Linked DNA regions of Homo sapiens: region 1 is linked to region 2. The links are contacts of gene promoters, found by promoter capture Hi-C in blood cells and fetal thymus (Javierre and others, 2016). All regions are on one chromosome and are shown on one strand. Each heading gives the region's core, a stretch centred on a gene start or on the middle of the fragment in contact. The rest is flanking DNA. Distances are from core to core; before and after follow the strand shown. Region 1 overlaps TRIOBP (TRIO and F-actin binding protein). Region 2 holds the start of SH3BP1 (SH3 domain binding protein 1).

Region 1 (4,772 bases), core at 415-2,914, 90 kb before region 2:
GTTTCTGAGCTTGAGGGCTCCCTGGGCAGGCTGTTTGTAACTTTTTTTTTTTTTTTTTTTTTGAGATGGAGTCTCGCTCTGTCACCCAGGCTGGAGTGCAGTGGTGCAATCTCAGCTCACTGCAACCTCCGCCTTCTGGTTTTAAGTGATTTTCCTGCCTCAGCCTGCTGAGCAGCTGGGATTACAGGTGTCCACCACCATGCCCAGCTAATTTTTATATTTTTAGTAGAGACGGGGTTTCACCATGTTGGCCAGGCTGGTCTCATTTTGAACTCCTGACCTCAGGTAATCCACCTGCCTTGACCTCCCAAAGTCTTGGCATTACAAGCATGAGCCACTGCACCCAGCCAATTTGTAATCTAATTGGAGGTGAGTGCGTTTCCTTACTCTGTGAGAGCTGAAGGCCTTAGAGTGAATTTTCCCCCGAACTGGGGTATAGGAGCTTCGATGAAGCAAGAGCCCAGACGTGACCCAGTGGGCTGTTCCTCCCTAATGGGGAGGACCAGGAGGACAATAGTGGAAACACCCGGTGCAGGGAAGCAAGGCACTTGTGTGTTCTCTTCCGGATGGATGCATTTTCCATACGAACTCCAGCTTGCTTGATGAGCATTCCTCCTGAGAACTCGCCTTCCTTTTTTCCCCCATGTAGAACTGAGAGAAAAGAGTGAGGGACTCAAGAAGATTCTGAAACCCCAACAGAGACCTGGCTTGTCCGATGCTGAAGCAACAGCGTCTCCTCGGGGCCACCTGTTCCCGAGGGTTGATGTGGCCGCACCAAGCATGACAAAGGAAACGTTTCCTTCGGAAGCTTAGATGGGTTCTTCGACCTCCAGAGAGAATTAAAGGAGCAAAGCCATCAAGTCTAGCAAATCCAGTGAAGGCTAGGTTTTGAATTCAAATGACCACAGGATGCTACGTGACTCTAAGAGATGCCAAAGGCATCTAAGGAAAAAAAAATTAAGATCAAGCCAAAACTCCCAATGCTTTGATGTGACAACCCTTTAAGAAAAATTTTCCAGACTCGGGACAATGCTTGGACAGAGTAGATGCTCAATAAATACATATCGATGAGGAAATAGGAGAAAATAAAAGCACACTCCTACAGCCACCCGCTCATAAGCTCCAGTCTGTCCCTTACACACACACTGCACAGTTTTAAAATTTTCCATATTCAGAGGATGAATGGTTTTCTACTTGGAAAAGGTGCCAGATAAGAGGAAAAATTTTAATTATTCAGTAAAATTATGAAAACTTCCCTAAAAGGTAAATAAGCTATTTCAAAGAGAGTAGAATTAAATGTATAGGAGTGATCGTGTAAAAACAAATGGTTAATAAAAGTGTAAACATATTTCTCATTTCTATTATTAATATAAACACCTTATCTCTCTGAAATTATCCTGGAAAAAAGGAAAGAAAATTAATTAACTTTGGCTTAAAGACCTTAATGTCCCTGCTGAGTTATTAGTTAAGACAAAGTTAGGAAAATTGACATTAGACAAGAAATAGTAATCATAAAAAGGTCAAAGACACTTTGGGAGGCCAAGGTGGGAGCATTGCTTGAGGCCAGGAGTTTGAGACCAACCTGGGCAACAAAGTGAGACTCCATCTCTACAAAAAGTAGAAAAATTAGCTGGGTATAGTGGTACACGCCTGTAGTCCCAGCTACTGAGGAGGCTGAGGTGAGAGAATCGCTTGAGCCTGGCAGTTTGAGGCCGCAGTGAGCCATGATCACGCCACTGCACTACTGCTGGGTGACAAAGCAAGACCCTGTTTCAAAAAAAAAAAAGGTCAGACCAGGCACGGTGGCTCACGCCTATAATCCCAGCACTTTGGGAGGCCGAGGTGGGTAGATTGCCTGAGCTCAGGAGTTCAAGACTAGCCTGGGCAACAGGGTGAAACCCTGTCGCTACTAAAAATACAAAAAAATTAGCCGGATGTGGCGGCATGCTCCTGTAGTCCCAGCTCCTCGGGAGGCTGAGGCAGGAGAACTGCTTGAACCCAGAAGGCAGAGGTTGCAGTGAGCCAAGATTGCACTACTGCACTCCAGCCTGGGTGACAGAGCGAGACTCCATCTCCAAACAAAAAAAAAAGTTAAAGACACTGAAGACTTTCAGGGTGAAACTACTCCATGATGTTACAATGGTGGATACTTGTCATACATTCATTCAAGCCTATAGGCTGTACATCACCAAGAGTGAACCCTAAACTTTGGGTGATTTCATAGTGTAGGTTCATGGATTGTAACAAATGTATCACCCTACTGCCCAGTACAGTGGCTCACCAGCACTTTGAGAGGCCAAGAAAGGAGGATCCCTTGAGGCCAGGAGCTGGAAACAAGCATACCTATCTAGTACAGGATATTGGTAGTGGGAGAGGCTGTGCATGGAACACTGCACTTTCTGCTCAATTTTGCTGTAAACCTAAAACTGCTCTGGGTTTTTGTTTTTAAGGCCAAAGAAAGAATTATACTAATGCTGGAGACCACACGGTTGTCATCTGGATATTAAATGATCAAGCTTACTGGAAAAGGAAATTTGAAGAACAAGAGATAAAGTTTCTTTTTTTTCTTTTTTTGAGATGGAGTTTCACTCTTGTTGCCCAGGCTGGAGTGCAATGACGCAATCTCAGCTCACTGCAAACTCCACCTCCCAAATTCAGGCAATACTGCTGCCTCAGCCTCCTGAGTAGCTGGGACTACAGGCGTGTGCCACTATGCCCGGCTAATTTTTTTTTTTTTTTTTTTTTTTGAGACGGAGTCTCACTCTGTCACCCAGGCTGGAGTGTAGTGGCATGATCTTGGCTCACTGCAAGCTCCAGTGCTGGGATTACAGGAGGGAGCCACTGCACCCAGCCAAGACTGATAAGGTTTCTCATGCAGATTCAAATCCAGGAGAAAACTTTCCCAAGGAGCAGCAAAGAGGAATTTTAGATACAAAATATTCCATACCCTTTAGGGTGATGAAAATGTTCTAAAGTTAGATTGTGGCAATGGTTGGACAACTTGGTAAATAAACTAAAAATTCGTTGAATTATATACATGGAAAGTTTTGAGACTTCCAGACTGCTTTTTGTTGCTGTTGTTCTCTTGACCCTAACTAATGGAATTCTAGCTCTGATTCTTGAAAACTCGAGGGCTGGAACTTCTGGGGAGAGAAACCTCAGCCTGATCAGGAGGAAATGCTCCCCTTCCAGGGGGCCAGTGCTGCTGACCAAGGAGACTCAAAAGACACCTGGACTTCAGGTGTCCCAGGATGTTTGACTGCTAAAAATCCATAATTCTGTGAGCTTTCTTTCTTAAAATAGGTAGCTCTGGCCATACATTTTTATTTTATTTTTATTTTTAGATGGAGTCTCACTCTGTCACCCAGGTTGGAGTGCAGTGGTACGATCTCGGCTCACTGCAAGCTCCGCCTCCCAGGTTCAAGCAATTCTCCTGCCTCAGCCTCCCGAGTTGCTGGGACTACAGGCGCCCGCCACCATGCCCAGCTAATTTTTTGTATTTTTAGTAGAGATGGGGTTTCACCGTGTTAGCCAGGCTGCTGTCGATCTCCTGACCTTGTGATCCGCCCGCCTCGGCCTCCCCAAGTGCTGGGATTACAGGCATGAGCCACCGTGCCCGGCCCTGGCCATACATTTTAAATTGACATAACTGTTTTCTGAAATGCATAGGGACCCATGAGTTTTCTTTGCCAAGGCAGGAAAAAATCATGGGTACTTTCTTCTTCTCCCTCATGCACGGAAGAAAAAAAAAAAAAACCCATGAGTCTGGATCAAAGGGTTTGAGAGTTCACTCTCATTTTGGCCGGGCACGGTGGCTCACTCCTGTAATCCTAGCACTTTGCGAGGCCGAGGCGGGTGGATCACTTGAGGTCAGGAGTTCGAGACCAGCCTGGCCAATATGGCGAAACCCCGTCTCTAGTAAAAATACAAAAAAATTAGCCGGGTGTGGTGGCACGTGCCTGTAATCCCAGCTACTCGGGAGGCTGAGGCAGGAGAATCGCTTGAACCCAGGAGGTGGAGGTTGCAGTGAGCCGAGATTGCACCATTGCGCTCCGGCCTGGGCAACAAGAGCAAAACTCCACCTCAAAAAAAAAAACAAAAAATAAAAAATAAAAAGACAGTTCACCCTTATTTGAATGAATGTGCTCATGTTCCCCTCCCTTACAGATGAGGAAACTGAGGCTCAGGTAGGTTAACTCACTATATCAGGTCATACGAGTTGACATGTGGCTTTGACCCAGGATTTGGACTCAGCCCTCCTGACTGCAGTCTTTGCTGTTAACCACTGGGCTGTGCATGACATCACTTAACCACACACACACACAAAACAGAAAACTCCCAATATGCAGAAACAGAGAAATGGAGCGATTTGCCCAAGGTCACACAGCCGGTAAATGGCAAGCCAGGGGGATTTGAACACTTTCTTTTGGCACCCTAACCCTTCACCTGTCCTGCTGCCGAGCCTCCTCCCCAGCCCACCTGGCTGACCCCACCCCCGGGCTCACCTGCGCTCTTGCCCGAAGAGGCGCTCCACCTCTGCACGGCCAGGGCTGTGGGTGCGGCCCCCGCTGCTGCACTGCGCCTGGGGCCCTGGCTGTCTCTGGGCCAGCCTCCTGGGTGGGGGCAGGTCGGCCAGCACAGTGTACTCCTCCCGCTCCAAGTTGTGCCTGGTCTCCCCGGGAGGCGCTGAGCCCCGGGAGCCCCCAGAGCTGCCCGGTGAAGGTGAGGGTGCCAGGAACGCTAGGTCACTGGGTGGGTGGCGGGGTGGGGAG
Region 2 (4,283 bases), core at 1,784-4,283:
TGGATGCCCTCACCACCTGGACCCCCTCCCAGCTGAGATCACGTCTTGGTATCCCCAGGTGAGGGCTGGGCCCCGTCTGTGCTCACCCCATGCTGGAATCAGGGTCCAGCTCCTTGAAGCTCTCAGCCATCGTGGTGGACAGAGCCATGAGGGGAAGCTTCTTCTGCAGGGAGGGTGGGGCCGGCGATGAGTGTCCGTGCCTCCCTCCACCCTGCCTGAGCACCAGGCCAGCCCCTTGGGGCAGGGGAGGAGGGAACCCAGGAGGGCCACAGTCCCAGATGAGAGTGGAAACAAGATGACAAGGCGTGGTGGGGGTGACATTTCCCTGAGAGCATGGATGGAGCCCCTCTCCATCTGGCGTGCCCTTTCCTCTTCCCAGAAGCCACTTGACTGGGCAGGAAGGAATGACCAAGTCCTACTGCAGACTGGGAAACTAAGATGCAGGGAGGGCAGGGAGCTTGCCCCAGGTCACACAGGTGGAGGGAGAATGGGAGCGGGAGCTCTTTCCCCTGTCCCAGGGTATATATGGCTGACCTAGCCACCGCTGAGTTCAAACGCTCTATGGCTCCCAATTTCCTTGCCTTGGCCACACTGAATTGTCAACTGATTCCAAAACATGGCCCCACACTCCCACCCCATCTGGAGTTACGGGGAATGCCTGCTCTGGGATCAGAGACCAGGGTTCAAACCTCAGTTCTGCCACTTACTAGCTATGTGACCTTGGACAAGTGACTTTATCTCTGAGCCTCCAGTTCCTCATGTGTAAAGCAATGCCTGCCCCTAGGGTTGTGCCAGTGTTCCATGAGACAGTGCACTCATATGTTAGTAACAAGCTGGCGGTTATCAGCCAATAAACGCTGCCTCTTGATTAATAAACGTGTATCCCTCAAAAGCCAGCTCAATTGCTACCTCCTTCAGGAAACCCTCTGAGGCCGCCCCATTGACAGCCTGCTCTTGCGCACTGATTGGACAGAGAAGTTCAGGTGCTGTCAGAAGCCTGGCCTTGGCTTATGGGAACTGGTGCACAGGGAAGTGGGGTAAAGGTGATGGGGAAGGTATAGGGCCTCTTGAGTGCAGTGCCAGAGGGGCCTTGGAACAGAGCAGTCTCCATGCCCTTGGTGCCAGACACTCAGACTGGCAAGGAAACCCCAGCCCCGACCTTGCTTCCCCATTGGATGGAAGTCTCCTGCTCAGGCCCCTCCTTCCCGGGACCCCCCACTCACCACCCGCTTGTCCATGTCTGCCCCGCTCTGGCCCTGCAGACAGGCCTGCAGCCGCTTGTGGATGTTGTGGGCTGCCCGCTTGGCCGGCTCCAGCCGCTGTTCTACCTGGGAAGGAGGTATGGAGGTTAAGGATCAAGAGAGGCTGTCTCCCCCTGAGCAGGAAACTTTCTCCTGTCCCCTGGGGACCCCATGGCCAACAGCTTGAGGAATGACTCAACCCAGGCCCCTACCTGGCGTCCCCGCCCCGGCCCTCTGCTCCGAGACAGCCTGCACAGGCCTGCCTTCCCACCTGCCCGGCCCAGGCACGTACCTGCAGCAGGTCCTCACCCAGGAACTCAGCGGTCTCCGGGGTGCTGCGGGGAGTGGTGGGGGGGGGGGGGAGAGTGCTTCTGCTGAGCCTGCCTGGGTTAGAACGCCCCCTACTTCCCTTCCCCGCAGCAGGGCACCTGGACCCCAGTGCTTCCACTGTCCCTCCCAGCTGAGGCCTGCCCTGGGTGGCCCAGTTGCTTCATCCCAGTCGGAGCACATTCCATGGGGGTGGGAATAGGATACATGGGTTTTTCCTCCTCCACCCAGGGCTGTGTCCTGAGAGAGGGCGGACAGATGAAACTAAAGGGGAGGCTGAGAGACCCACCCGGGGCCCAGCTTTGGGACACAGAAGCCTCTTTTCTGCCCACTCCCAAATCCTCAGCCCACCCCGGGATGAGGAGTATTAGCTGGCCCCAAGAACGGGAAGTGCAGGAGCTCAGACTCCTAGGCACAGTCACACAGCACTCTGGACTACAGCTGTGGGCAGGGGTGCACAGGCCCTTGGCCCCCACCTGGGGACACATGGGGGATGCCAAGGCCCACTGCAAGGTGGTCTGACTGTCCAGGCTATGTAGGCATCTGTGCCAGTGTGAGACTAGAACCAGGTCTCTGGACACCCAGTCCCCTCCCTGGACCCAGAGAATGGGGAACTCCTGAGGCTGGGGGAAGAGGAGCAGAGAAGACAGGCTCTGAGAGGCTCCCCAAACTTCCGGCCTCCGTGCCACCGGCTCAGAGGCTGGGGGTGGGAGCTGGGAGACCTGGGGATATTTCCACCTGAGTCCAGGAAAAGCAGAAACGAGACAGAAGCAGGAGGCCCCTGGGCTGGGGGGAGGGGGAGGGGGAGGGACGCTGCAGGCCAGGGGCAGGCCCCTCCTCCCACCAGGCCAGGACCCATCTCCTCCCCTCGCCCCAGGTCTGTGGCCCTAATCGACCCTCCTCCCTCCCCGGCCCAGCAAGCAGAGGTGGTGAACTGTCCCATTGTCCAGAGGGGACAAGTGAGGTCAGGAGGACCATCCACTTAGAGACTCGTGGAGGCAGAGAAGTCCCAGCGTCCTAGGGCAGAGAGCATTCTCCCGCCTGAAGCCCCCTCCAATCCGGTAAGGGGGGGCATCCCTTCCCCCAAAGGCCACCCTTGCTCCTCCAGCTCTGCCCGAGAGACGGGGGCGGCGTTCAGAGAGGAGGAAGAGAGAGCAGGAGTCTGGCCGCTCAGAGGGTGGCTGCCCAGCTGTCCCCAGCCTCCCCCACCCCCGTCTCCCCCGACCCTTTTACGACCCCTCAAGTCCTGCCGGGGTAAGAGTGGGGCTGGAAGCGGGTGACACTCACCGTCCCAAGCTGCCCGTCTGGGCCAGCTGCCGCATGCGGTGCAGCTGCCTCTTCATCATCTTGGGGGCGAGCTGGGGGCTGCGGGGTCACGGCGGGGGTCGCGGGCCCGGGGAGCCCCCGGTCCAGCCTGCCTCTCCTGCGGCGCGGCTCTTGCCCCGGATGGGTGGGCGGCGCTCTCGCTTCCTGGGCCGCCGCGCGGCTCTTGCTGGCGGCCGGCTCTCTCCTCCCCCGCTCACGACTCCGCCCCCGGCCCCCAGGTCACTCCTCTCTCCAAGTTGGTTTCCTCGCTCTTCCCCGGCTTCCGGGCCCCCGGGCGACCCCCGGCCGGGCCCCCGCTGCTGTGTGTCCGCCGGCCGCGGCCGTCCACAGGTTGTGCCCGGCTCCTCCTCCCCGCAGCGCCCCGCCCAGCCCCGGTGGCGGGAAGCAGGTAAGCCCATTCCTGCCCCTGCGCCCGCAACCCGCCCCAGGCGGGGTGCCTGCCCCACCCGCAGCCTGCAGACCCGAAGTATAAATAACCTTTGCATCCCTCGCAAAGAGGAAAGGGTACCAAGCGAAAGAGGGGTAGGCCTTTCTGACCTGTCCTGGCCTCTCTGGGCCTGCCGCGGATACTGCCTTGCACTCTCTTCCGCAGAGGACCTCTGGCCCCCTGGAACTAAACCCCCCACCACTGGATGACTGGCTGGGAGCTTTGGCTTCCTGGGGCCACGGGCTGCTGTGTGGCCGTGGACAAGCCCCTGGAACTCCGGACTCGCTGTTTCTAATGGTCTGATGGGCCAGCTGTCCTGGGCCTGCCCATTCTGCAGAGTGGACAAGACACCCCTGCCAGCTCCCTTTAAGGGAGGTGCGTGCCACCCCTCAGCCACCAGGAACCCTCCCAGAGCGGTTCGCGACACCCTGTTCTCCACATCTCCTGGCAGTTTGCTCCATCTGTGAAGCCCGTCTCCTCTCATTCCTCCTGGCAAACAGCCTCAGTCCCCCTTCCTTCTTGTAGGGCAATGATGTAGGTGCTGCTCTGACTGCCCCCAAACTCAGTAGTTCTCCTCTTTGGCCCTCCACTCAACACAGAGTTAGGCATACAGTAAGTGCTCCATAACTGCTGGTTTTACAAGATGTGAGCGCCTTTAGGAAACAGTAGGCTCTCCTTACCCTGCACCCCTGTGGCATCAGGAGCCGCAGGCGTGGGGAAGAGGGGAGGGTGTGCCCCAGAGTCCTGCCACACCCTCTGCACTTTGCTTTGTTAGTTTCAGTTTAGTTTGAGACTATTTGAGCCACTACTGTGTGCCGGTGCAGACTGTGTGCCGGTGCAGACTGGGCGCCTCTCAGAGGCAGGACCTTGGCCCCACACATCTCCATACTCCCAGCACCTAGCCCAGGGCCTGGCACACTCACTGGCTGCTTCTCTCCTCCCTAATGAGGCAGGACTCATTG

What was found. The method cuts DNA at HindIII sites, captures the fragments that hold promoters and counts their contacts. A CHiCAGO score of 5 or more calls a contact.
Region 1: a contact is called between a fragment that was not itself captured here and the fragment with the promoter of SH3BP1 in region 2, in 4 of 17 cell types (endothelial precursors, M0 macrophages, M1 macrophages and 1 more). The highest score is 10.5, in endothelial precursors.

The regions. Positions count from the first base shown.
Region 1 is chr22:37,726,237-37,731,008 of GRCh38, reverse strand. TRIOBP (TRIO and F-actin binding protein) reads right to left here. Exons shown (of 24, transcript NM_001039141.3): 7 at 4,506-4,772. Among named protein-coding and RNA genes, the nearest start is that of TRIOBP, 32 kb to the right of the region's middle. RefSeq lists an enhancer at 4,686-4,772. The HindIII fragment of the contact is 1,708 bases long and covers 811-2,518 here.
Region 2 is chr22:37,638,419-37,642,701 of GRCh38, reverse strand. SH3BP1 (SH3 domain binding protein 1) reads right to left here and starts at 3,033. Exons shown (of 18, transcript NM_018957.6): 1 at 2,856-3,033; 2 at 1,534-1,576; 3 at 1,224-1,328; 4 at 87-163. The coding sequence starts at 2,914. It overlaps PDXP-DT (PDXP divergent transcript), which reads left to right. Exons shown (of 6, transcript NR_109952.1): 6 at 1-870. RefSeq lists silencers at 2,816-3,255, 3,286-3,435, 4,066-4,283. The HindIII fragment of the contact is 8,436 bases long and covers 160-4,283 here.